Regions from separate parts of the Homo sapiens genome. Here region 2 is linked to region 1. Evidence: promoter capture Hi-C in human tissues and cell types (Jung and others, 2019). All regions are on one chromosome and are shown on one strand. The core of a region is centred on a gene start or on the middle of the fragment in contact, and the rest is flanking DNA. Distances in the headings are between cores, read along the strand shown.

Region 1 (5,706 bases), core at 543-3,042:
CCTGTCCGGGCATGACAGAGGGTTCACACTCCTGCCTTCTGGTCACTTCTCAGCATGTCCCTTCAGCTCCTATCTCTGTATGGCCTGGTTTTTCCTAGGTTATAATTGTAGAACAAAGATTATTATAATATTGGAATAAAGAGTTATGCTATAAACTAATGATTAGTAATATATATAATCATAGCTATAATCTATTTCTAGTATAACTATTCTTATTCTATGTATTTTCTTTATTATACTGGAACAGCTTGTGCCCTCGGTCTCTTGCCTTGGCAGCTGGGTGGCTTGCCTCCCACATGGCACTGCTGGGCATTGTCTGTTAATATTGAATAATTGTTTTAAGATTATTTTCAATAAGGCTTTACCTTTTTTAACTTGCACTGTGGCCATGAGCTCTGCTGGAAGTGACTTGTTGGTGTTATCTCCTCAGTTATAAAGTGAAGGGATTTTTCTTTTTCAGATTACTGAGAGTCTTCCGTTACTAGGTAAGTCACCGCATCCTTATAACTCCAGGTGACACTGACTGGGGTTTATGGGATGAAAGAGGAGTGTGTGCTTGGATGATGGGGTGTGATAGTGAAGGGGTGAAAGGTTTCTTCTCACACATAGACATCGTGAGGTCTTCCTTGAGCTCTTTAGAGCCTTCCCTCGGGATAGGATGAAATACTGAGATCCTAGAAAGGATTCACAAAACGTGTCACTCATCAGCGCAGATTCACCGATTCACCCCTAGATGTGTGTGGGATTTGGATGGCAGAGAGAAACAGGCACTGAAGATTTTTGGTCAGGACAGGGCAGAGAAATAAGAAGAGTTGAAAATTCACCAAAGGATAGATAAACCCAGGGCGTTTAGAGAAAACCTGTAGTGTGCAAAGGAGCCCAGAATCCTGGGGCAACTTGGAGGGAAATATACTTAATTTGATTCACTAAGTTAGGCCCAGTGAAGGGATTGGGTGGCATAGGTAGAAGCCGAAAAATAAAGTATCTTGTATTGCTGGAGTAGCCTCTGTTTCTGAGGTCACATCCAAACTTAGCGAGGCAGCTTAACCTGGTGAGAGACATGGGTTCAACTCCTGGCTTCTGCACTGCTAGGGCAGAGGACTGCTGTTTGCTGACACAATCTTGGTGCGTTGGAAGTGAAAGGGAAGAGGCACTGGTGGCTGTGCTTTGGGCCCGAGCAGCCAGAAGCCAGTTGCCATCACCTATGACGAGGAGACAGCGCCTGGGGCAGAGCCCAGTATGGGGTGCGTTCAGGGTAGATCAGGAGGTATGAGTGGGTAGTGGGCGAGCCAGGCTGGGGGTTGTGGGGGAGGCCTGCATTGCAGGTGTAAGCGTGGGACCCACATCAGATTGGTAGTGGGTCATGCATGCTGGGCTGGCTCTCAGGTCCTCCCTGCTGGCTTCCCACTCCCAGGGGCTTTCTCCTCCGATTCCTTAGCTGGGTGAGGGGCGGGACAGAGCCCTTTCTTAGGGAAGCCCGGCACCCCTTGCTGTCCAGGGAAGGGGAGTCCTTCTAGCCCCTGACAGCTTCTCTGCCCCTCCCCTGGCCTCCCCAGGCCTAGCCAGGGCTGGGTTCTCACCCACCTGTGCCGCCCTGCCTTGTTACCTGGAAGCACAGCCTTGGGGACTGAGCAGGCCCTCACTGTCACTTTAAGAAGGGAATCAGCCACTTTGTGCTCACCACCTCTGGGGAAGGTGTGAGAGGAGAGAAGGAAGTGGCTGTTTGGCTGCTGACAACATGAAGACTTCCTGCGATGAGAACAGAGGCACAGGTGCCGGCCCTGCAGCCCCCAGAACCTGGACTGGAGGGGGCCATGGGGCACCGGACCCTGGTCCTGCCCTGGGTGCTGCTGACCTTGTGTGTCACTGCGGGTGAGTGCCGGCACCAGAGAGGGGCAGGGGCTGCAGGGAGGGTGATGTAGGACAACAGCCCACCGACCTTGCTGCTGTTCCACAGGGACCCCGGAGGTGTGGGTTCAAGTTCGGATGGAGGCCACCGAGCTCTCGTCCTTCACCATCCGTTGTGGGTTCCTGGGGTCTGGCTCCATCTCCCTGGTGACTGTGAGCTGGGGGGGCCCCAACGGTGCTGGGGGGACCACGCTGGCTGTGTTGCACCCAGAACGTGGCATCCGGCAATGGGCCCCTGCTCGCCAGGCCCGCTGGGAAACCCAGAGCAGCATCTCTCTCATCCTGGAAGGCTCTGGGGCCAGCAGCCCCTGCGCCAACACCACCTTCTGCTGCAAGTTTGCGTCCTTCCCTGAGGGCTCCTGGGAGGCCTGTGGGAGCCTCCCGCCCAGCTCAGACCCAGGTGGGGCCGGGGCGAGGGGTCCAGGAGGGCAGGGAGGGGCTCGGGAACTGGCCACCCATCTGATTCTTGTCTCCGTGCCCAGGGCTCTCTGCCCCGCCGACTCCTGCCCCCATTCTGCGGGCAGACCTGGCCGGGATCTTGGGGGTCTCAGGAGTCCTCCTCTTTGGCTGTGTCTACCTCCTTCATCTGCTGCGCCGACATAAGCACCGGTGAGACCTGGTCCCTGTCCACGTCCCCCTGACACTGGGATGGCCACATGCCCTGCAGAGCTCTGACCATCCTTGCTCTCTCCCAGCCCTGCCCCTAGGCTCCAGCCGTCCCGCACCAGCCCCCAGGCACCGAGAGCACGAGCATGGGTGAGGAGGGGACCTGCTTTGGGGATGAGGTGACAGGGGCAGGGGCAGGGGGGCCAGGGCTGGGCCCAAGCTGTGCAGACTCACTTGACCCTCCTTCCCCCGCGCAGGCACCAAGCCAGGCCTCCCAGGCTGCTCTTCACGTCCCTTATGCCACTATCAACACCAGCTGCCGCCCAGCTACTTTGGACACAGCTCACCCCCATGGGGGGCCGTCCTGGTGGGCGTCACTCCCCACCCACGCTGCACACCGGCCCCAGGGCCCTGCCGCCTGGGCCTCCACACCCATCCCTGCACGTGGCAGCTTTGTCTCTGTTGAGAATGGACTCTACGCTCAGGCAGGGGAGAGGCCTCCTCACACTGGTCCCGGCCTCACTCTTTTCCCTGACCCTCGGGGGCCCAGGGCCATGGAAGGACCCTTAGGAGTTCGATGAGAGAGACCATGAGGCCACTGGGCTTTCCCCCTCCCAGGCCTCCTGGGTGTCACCCCCTTACTTTAATTCTTGGGCCTCCAATAAGTGTCCCATAGGTGTCTGGCCAGGCCCACCTGCTGCGGATGTGGTCTCTGTGTGTGCGTGTGTGGGCACAGGTGTGAGTGTGTGAGTGACAGTTACCCCATTTCAGTCATTTCCTGCTGCAACTAAGTCAGCAACACAGTTTCTCTGATGTCGGCCTCGGCTGTGCTTCTTCTTTGGGGGTGAAGAGAGTGGGGAGGCAGTCTCCACCCCTGGGAGGCAGAAGCCAGGTGAGAACCAGAGTGGGTTGGGGCCTCATTGCAGGGCTGGGGTTGGCCCAGGGAGAGGGCAGTGTCCCAATCTTAGAGATCTGTCCTGGCTTCTCAGAGTGGCAGGGGTGTTGGGGGAGCTTCCTGAGGGACACCTGTGGCTGCCTAGATAGGGCTGGGGGATCCCAGTGGGATGGTCTCTGCTCCAATCCCACCATGTTCTAGGACAACAGCAAGGGTTCCTGGGGCTTTGGCCTGAGAGAAGTCCCTGTGGTTTGACCTGGCTTCCCTCTGCTGGGCTCCCTGCTGTGGCCTGGGCTGGGGTCCTGATGCCCTCCTTCCACAGCTGGCGTTAGGCAGGGTGTGGAGAGTAGGGGGACTCACCTGAAATCTTCCCTCAATCACTTCCCCCGCCTCCTCTCGGGGAAGGCAGAGGCCTTCACAGACATGGGGGACTCCCCACAAAATGTTCCATCCAGAGCCAACCTTTCTGCTTGGTAGAGCTGTGTCTCCCCCTCAGCCTAGTTCCAGGGCGGGTCCGTGTCTCCCACCCCAAACTAGTTCCAGGGTGGGTCCCTGTCTCCCACCTCAGACCAGCTTTGGGGCTGGTCCGTGTCTCCCCCTTCAGACTATCTCTGGGGCAGGTCCATGTCTCCCACCTCAGACTAGCTCCAGGGCAGGTCTGTGTCTCCCCATTTAAACTAGCTCTGGGGCGGGTCCGTGTCTCCCCCATCAGACTAGCTCCGGGGCGGGTCTGTGTCTCCCACCTCAGACTAGCTCCAGGGCAGGTCCATGTCTCCCACCTCAGACTAGTTCTGGGGCGGGTCTTTGTCTCCCCGCTCAGACTAGCTCTGGAACGGGTCCTTGCCTTCCCACTCAGATTAGTTCCGGGGTGGGTCCATGTCTCCCCGCTCAGACTAGCTCCAGGGAAGGTCTGTGTCTCTTCCCTCAGATGAGCTCCTGGCAAAGCCTCCCCCGTCAGACTAAGACTCCTAGGCAGAGCCGTGCCTCCCCCTGGTCCAGCCGGCGACCCCTCATGCCCAAGGCAGCCCTACCCATTGAAGTAGGACATGACATCCATGAGGAGTGTGGCAACAGCAGGCAGCGTGTCGGGGTCCAGGCTGGTGACACAGAACCTGTTGCTCGGGCTGGACAGTGGGTGGATGACCGGCATCTGGACTGTAAGAGCACAAAGATGTCAGGCACTGAGGCTGGGACTGAAAGCAGCAGCTCTGGTGAGTGCAGGGCCTGGGAAGAGGGCTGGGGAGGGCTCAGCCGCAGGCCCTGAGAGACTCATTCACTGCTGCTTCTCCAGCCTCTACCACCAATTACCACCGTCCTGATTCTCCATCTCACTCTCAGGCCCCTGGGCCTTTGCACATGCTGTGCTGGCTGCCTGGGATGCCCTTCCCAACTGGCACCACCTGGCCCCGTTCCTACCTGTGTTCCAGGCTTCAGCACCACAGTCCCTGCCCAGGGAAACCCACCCTGACACCTGGGATTGCAGCAGGAGTGGCCTCTGGCCATTGCTGTATGCATGCACGTCCACCACCCTTGCTAGACATGGCAGCAGGGCCTGCCCAGGACCTTTCCATCACATTTTTTTTTTTTTGAGATGGAGTTTTGTTCTTGTTGCCCAGACTGGAGTGCAATGGCACAATCTCGGCTCACCGCAACCTCCGCCTCCTGGGTTCAAGTGATTCTCCTGCCTCAGCCTCCTCAGTAGCTGGAATTACAAATATGCACCACCACACCCAGCTAATTTTGTATTTTTAGTAGAGACCAGGTTTCTCCATGTTGGTCAGGCTTGTCTCAAACTCCTGACCTCAGGTGAATTGCCTGCCTCGGCCTCCCAAAGTGCTGGGTTTACAAGCATGAGCCACCACACCTTGCCCTTTGCATCCCGTTCTGCCTGGCACTCCATTCATGCTCAGTGGGCAGAAGCCCGTGCTGAGAGCAAGGCTGGTCTACGGCTTGGCCTGGTAACTTCGTGAGGTTTCCCCGCACAAACCCCCGCCCCCAGCTCACCCAGCTTGGGCTTCACGAAGCCACTGGTGATGCCGAGGTTCTCGGCTGCTACAGTCTAGCCACTGACCACAGGATGGTGAACTCTGATGACAACGTGTGGGTGACAAAGGGCAGGTCCCGCTTGAGCACCTAGGGGCAAGAAGTTGAGGCTGTGTGTGCCTGGTGGCCCTGGGGCACCAACCTCTCACCCTGAGACTCTGCCCCCACCCTGGAATAGCGTGGAAGGGCAAGGCTGCAAGGGGTGGGAGATGGGAGTGAGTGTGTCAGAGGCGGGCCCAAGTGTGCAAGGCGTG
Region 2 (6,073 bases), core at 3,388-5,887, 130 kb before region 1:
AACCTGGGAGGTGGAGGTTGCAGTGAGCCGAGATCGCACCACTGCACTCCAGCCTGGGAGCGACAGAGGGATACTCCATCTCTGTATATATATACGTATCCTGAAGTATGTTTATGGTCTGTTTCCTACAACTAGGGTATAAGCTCCATGAGGTCAGGACTTCGTTTTGTTTAGTGATGTACCTGCTGCCTGGTAGGCACTCCCAAATATTTGTTAAATTAATGACTGATAGGTGAATAGATAACCACTGACCCATACCAAAAAGGAGCACTTGCTTTTTGTTCGTTTTTGTTTTTGGGGTGGGGATATTTTTTTGGTTTGTTTGTTTGTTTGTTTTGAGACAAACAAATATGGCGAAACTCTATCTCTACAAAAAATACAAAATTTAGCCTGGCGTGGTGGCACGCATTTGCAGTCCCAGCTACTTGGGAGGCTGAGATGGGACAGTCACTTGAGTTCAGGAGGTTGAGGCTGCACTGAATTGTGATTGTAACACTGCACTCCAGCCTGGGTGACAGAGCAAGACTCTGTCTCAAAAACAACAATAACAAACACAAAACAAAACAAAAACAAAAAAAAAGAAACGTTTAGCAAACTTAGTTCTAAAATGCGCACAATCAACTGATTCAATGTCAAAGTCATCCTTAAATTCCACAATAATCTCTTGTTTTATGAGCTGTATAATTATCTGAACAATGTTTCAAAAGCACCTGAAACAACAAGGCAAAGGAGTTCTTTAATGTGTGAGAGAGCAGTGCAAACGATCAACTTTACTAACCCTAGAATAATTCTCATCTTGTTTTTATTTTAGCCTTCTATCTAGCTGAGAAGCACTATGCTCCTTGGAAGCTGCCTAGCATTCTTTAAAGAGAGACATTTTTCTGGCCAGGCACGGTGGCTCACACCTGTAATCCTAGCACTTTAGGAGGCCGAGGCAGGTGGATCGGTTGAGGCCAGGAGTCTGAGAACTGACTAGCCAACATGCTGAAAACCCATCTCTACTAAAAATACAAAAATGAGCCAGGTGTGGTGGCGCAAGCCTGATATCTCAGCTACTTGGGAGGCTGAGGCACAAGAATCACTTGAACCCAGGAGGTGGAGGTTGCAGTGAGCCAACATCTCACCAAAGAGATACATTTTTCTGACCTGGTTTTTCCAAATAGAAACAAGGCATTAGGTACTTTTCTTTGACAACCCTCTCAGTTTGTCCAGACCTGGTTGGTTTATCACTGGGGACTAGAATAAAATAAATTCCTTTTTAACTTCCCTTTGGCGAGAAGACCCCTCTTCCTGCAGGATTTCTCAAGTCCGTTCCATTGAGGGTTGCTGGCCCCTTCAAGTTTCCTTCATCCAGGCTCCTAAACGGAGAGATTGCATAATTCCCCTGTAAATTACAACTATCACCATATGGGGCTGTTCAGGGTCATAACACAGTTCTTCACCTGCTTTCTAGGAGCTTACACTTTGGGTGGGGATACAGACACCTAGAGCCAGAGTATGTCTGGCTCTTTCTAGGTGTCTGTACCCCTCTTTGTAGGGGTGGCAGGAGGAGCAGTGTGTGCAACTTGCTTAGGTTTAGGGGTAAGGAGGGGGTGGAGCAGCCTAGGCTAGCCAGATGTGAATTTTGGGTTTTTTTATGAGACAGAGTCTTGCTTTGTCAACCAGGCTGGAGTGTGGTGGTGTGATCTCGGCTCGCTGCAACCTCCGCCTCCCGGGTTCAAGTGATTCTCCTCCCTCAGCCTCTCGAGTAGCTGGGATTACAGGCATGCACCACCACGCCTGGCTAATTTTTGTATTTTTAGTAGAGATGGGGTTTCACCATCTCTACTGGTCGAGACCAGGCTGGTCTTGAACTCCTGACTTCAGGTGATTCACCCACCTCGGCCTCCCAAAGTGCTGAGATTACAAGCATAAGCCACTGTGCCTGGCCAGGAACTCAGTATTTAAGGGAAGAAAGCATGCAAGAGGAAAATAAGGAAGAAGGAGAGGCAGTGAGGCAAATGTTTTTTGTTTTGTTTTGTTTTGTTTTTCTTAAGACAGTGTCTCGCTCTGTCAGCAGGCTGGAGTGCAGTGGCGCAATCTCGGCTCACTGCAACCGCTGCCTCCCAGGTTCAAGCGATTCTTGTGCCTCAGCCTCCCAAGTAGCTGGTACTACAGGTGCGTGTCACCATGCCCAGCTAATATTTTGTATTTTTAGTAGAGACGGGGTTTCACAGTGTTAGCCAGGATAGTCTCAATCTCTTGACCTTGTGATCTGCCTGCCTCGGCCTCCCAAAGTGCTGGGATTACAGGCGTGAGCCACTGCACCCAGTCCAGCAAATGGTTATTTTATTTTATTTTTTGAAATAGAGTCTCAATCTGTTGCCCAGGCTGGAGTCCAGTGGGTCCATCTCGGCTCACTGCAATCTCCACCTCCTAGGCTCAAGTGATTCTCCTGCCTCAGCCTCCCAAGTAGCTGAGATTACAGGTGGGCACCACCACACCCAGCTAATTTTTGTATTTTTAGTAAAGATGGGGTTTTGCCATGTTGGCCAGGCTGGTCTTGAACTCCTGGCCTCAAGTGATCCACTCGCTTCCCAAAGTGCTGCGATTACAGGCATGAGCCACTGCACACCCTGCTGCACATTGTTACTTTTTTGTGAGTTTCTCATTAGTGTTCAGTAAATCTACATTTTATGTAAGATACAATAAACATTTGAAAAGAGGGAGTGGAGGAAAAAGTCAGTTATGCATCTGTCTCAGGATAGGTGGAGGGATGATTCCTGGTCTCTTCCTTGTTCTATAATTGGGAAGATAAGCTTGTAATCAACATTGTCAGTATGAGATTTCACAGAACTCGGATTAGGGCTGGTTTATAGGGGGAATGTTTATGCTGAAAGATTCAGAGGCTAATGAGGAATTTCCTGGCAAGCAATTTGTGAGGAAGACCATCTGGGGAGGTATATGCCTTTTGCCATTGTAGGAGCCTGGCTTATGTATGAGGCTATGACACAGGGTTGTGGAATTACAGCTATCTGGGAACAAAAAGGAAGGGAGTTTTGACTCACTTCCCAAGCATAAATTTCCTCGGCATGCCTCTACCATACCCAGCGAATTTTGTTTCCATGTTTTGTTGAAACAAGGTGTCACCATGTTGCCAAGGCTGGTCTCAAACTCCTGGGTTCAAGTGATCCTCCAACCTTGGCCTCCCAAAGTGCTAGGATTACAGGCGTGAGTCACCATGCCTGGCCTTGTGGAGTTATCTTCTTTCTTTCTTTCTTTCTTTCTTTTTTTTTTTTTTTTGAGATGGAGTCTCACTTTGTCTTGCCCGGGCTGGAGTGCAGTGGCGCGATCGCAGCTCACTGCAGCTTCCACCTCCCGGGTTCAAGCAATTCTCCTGCCTCAGGCTCCTGAGTAGCTGGGATTACAGGCGCCTGCCACCACGCCTGGCTAATTTTTGTATTTTTAGTAGAGATGGGGTTTCACCATGTTGGCTAGGCTCGTCTCAAACTGCTGACCTCAAGTGATTGTCTGGCCTCGGTCTCCCAAAATGCTGGTATTACAGGTGTGAGCCACCATGCCTGGCCTTGTGGGGTTATTTTCGAAAGTCCTTGAGATAATTCCTATCTCAGACATGCAAGCATGAGACCTTCTCCTTGGTGTTCTCATGGCTCCAATTTGTTTGGACCTGACAATGTGATTTTGTCCTGGTATCTGCAACTTTCACAAGATGGAGCAACTAACTCAACACCAGATTCCACCCCTAATTATTCCTTCATTCACTCAAAAAGTATCTAGGCTCCAATGTGTCAGGCACCGTGTTGGTCACAGGGGATACCATGATGAACAAGAGAAGGAACCACAGGCTTTTGAATGGGAAACTAAAGCATGTGAAAAACACACGGAGAGCTGGGTGCGGTGGCTCATGCCTGTAATCCCAGTGCTTTGGGAGGCTGAGGATGGAGGATCTCTTCTGCCCGGGAGTTGGAGACCAGCCTGGACAACCTAGTGAGACCCCCGTCTCTATCAAAATAAAAACAAATAATAAAATTAGCTGGGTGCGGTGGGGTGCGCCTGTAGTCCCAGCTACTCGGGAGGCTGAACTGGGAGGATCACTTGAGCCCAGGAGTTTGAGGGTGCAGTGAGCTGACATCAGGCCACTGCACTCCAGCCTGGGCGACAGAGCGAGACCCTGTCTCAAACAAAACAAAACAAACCACCACCACCACCAGACATGAGGGCCAGTGCAGCTGAAGCCTGAAGATCAAGGGCTAGAAGAGGCCAGGCCGGGGCCAGATCAGGCAGGGCCTTGCAGGTTGTGGTTAGTTGTTTGGATTTTATTGTGAGGGAAATAACACGACATGTCATTCCTTCTGCAACAGCCTTAAGAACTAGGCGTTCTTATCCCAATTTCACAGACGAGGACGATCAAGTCGTTAATTTGTCAAAGGTCACCCGCAGGCGACAGGCGGGGACAGGGTCTGGGAAAACCCGCTAGGCACCGAGGCCCAGAGGGCGTCGGGCGTCCCCGCACCGAGTGCCGCCCGCCGCGACCCGGGAACTGCCTGCTCCCCGGACGCCAGGCCCGCCGCACGCCGCGGGGACACCGAACATGCGCCGCTCGCCTTACGGAAGCCGGGAAGGAAGGGGGCGGGGCCGAGGCTGGCGGGCGCGGGGAAAATGGCGGCGGCGGCGGCGGCGGCTGCAGCTACGAACGGGACCGGAGGAAGCAGCGGGATGGAGGTGGATGCAGCAGGTAACGGGCCGTGCGGGGGTGGCTTCCGGAGACCTCCTTCAGGGGTTCGTTGAGGCCTCCCTGTGCTCCCGGGAGAAGGGAGGAGGGCGGAGCAGCAACATCTTTCCCTGGGATAAGTTACGGGAGGAAAGTGTGGCCCGGGCTCCGCCGTCCCCCACTGCCATCTCCAGGGAAGAACGTGGGGCCCGGACTCTCACCCTCTCTCCTTTCCCTCCACCCTTAGTAGTCCCCAGCGTGATGGCCTGCGGAGTGACTGGGAGTGTTTCCGTCGCTCTCCATCCCCTTGTCATTCTCAACATCTCAGACCACTGGATCCGCATGCGCTCCCAGGAGGGGCGGCCTGTGCAGGGTGAGTGTTGGGCATAGACTCCAGTCTCTTCTCCTTGCTCACCTCCCCCAGGCAGTGGTCTTTTCCCCTTCCTCTACTGGAGCCAATTCCCCCTCCCCCAAATCATCGTTTCCCCAATACATGGTTCCCACTGATCTCAGACCCTCAGGTCATAGAAGTTTCTTTACCCTCACCTTTTCCATGTCATTCTCTTTCCCAGTGATTGGGGCTCTGATTGGCAAGCAGGAGGGCCGAAATATCGAGGTGATGAACTCCTTTGAGCTGCTGTCCCACACCGTGGAAGAGAAGATTATCATTGACAAGGAATATTATTACACCAAGGAGGAGCAGTGTGAGAGTGGAATAGATGTGGGGAAGAGGAGTGGGAGTTAAAAAAAAAATGTACAGGGTGGGGAAGATGGAGAGGGTTGGAAAGAAACAGGAGAGGAGACCAAGAACAGGGGAGAAAAAGTGAAGAGTAGCTGGAGAGATCTCAGAAAAAGAAAACGTTCAGAGTTCTTTCTCAAAAGAAAGCAAAGGATGAGAGGAGACAGGATAGAAGGGAGTAGTTATTCTAAACTGAGCCAGGATTTGAGGAGGGAGGAGAGAAGCTGGTGAAAATACACCAGGAGCTTCACATTGAGGAAGGATGGTTTAAAGAATTACTATGTCAGGCCGGGCTCAGTGACTCATGCCTCTAATCCCAGCACTTTGGGAGGCCGAGGTGGGTGGATCATGAGGTCAGGAGTTCAAGACCAGCCTGGCAAACATAGTGAAACCCCACCTCTACTAAAAATACAAAAATTAGTCTGGCATGGTGGTGCGTGCCTGTAGTCCCAGCTACGCGGGATGCTGAGGCAGGAGAATTGCTTGAACCTGGGAGGCGGAGGTTGTGGTGAGCTGAGATCATGCCACTGCACTCCAGCCTGGGCAACAGAGCGAGATTCCGTCTCAGAAAAAAAAAAAAAAAGAATTACTATATGTTCTGGCCCCTTCCCCTCTAGTTAAAC

Evidence for each region. Contacts are between HindIII fragments. The study calls those that stand out against the background at their distance.
Region 2: the fragment with the promoter of COPS6 here is called in contact with the fragment with the promoter of PVRIG in region 1 in 1 of the 25 tissues and cell types used here (adrenal gland).

Annotation. Positions count from the first base shown.
Region 1 is chr7:100,218,157-100,223,862 of GRCh38, forward strand. It overlaps PVRIG (PVR related immunoglobulin domain containing), which reads left to right and starts at 1,793. Exons shown (of 5, transcript NM_001397246.1): 1 at 1,793-1,872; 2 at 1,958-2,308; 3 at 2,391-2,517; 4 at 2,604-2,664; 5 at 2,772-3,334. The coding sequence starts at 1,815. The coding sequence ends at 3,095. It also overlaps a transcript of STAG3 not described here and the pseudogene CASTOR3P. RefSeq lists enhancers at 1,683-1,812, 1,873-1,942, 3,333-3,432, 3,453-3,552 and a silencer at 2,863-2,912. The HindIII fragment of the contact is 32,066 bases long and covers 1-5,706 here.
Region 2 is chr7:100,084,332-100,090,404 of GRCh38, forward strand. COPS6 (COP9 signalosome subunit 6) reads left to right here and starts at 4,638. Exons shown (of 10, transcript NM_006833.5): 1 at 4,638-4,735; 2 at 4,959-5,084; 3 at 5,284-5,415; 4 at 6,068-6,073. The coding sequence starts at 4,660. RefSeq lists enhancers at 2,758-3,451, 4,838-5,529, 5,036-6,073 and a silencer at 4,498-4,687. The HindIII fragment of the contact is 6,643 bases long and covers 382-6,073 here.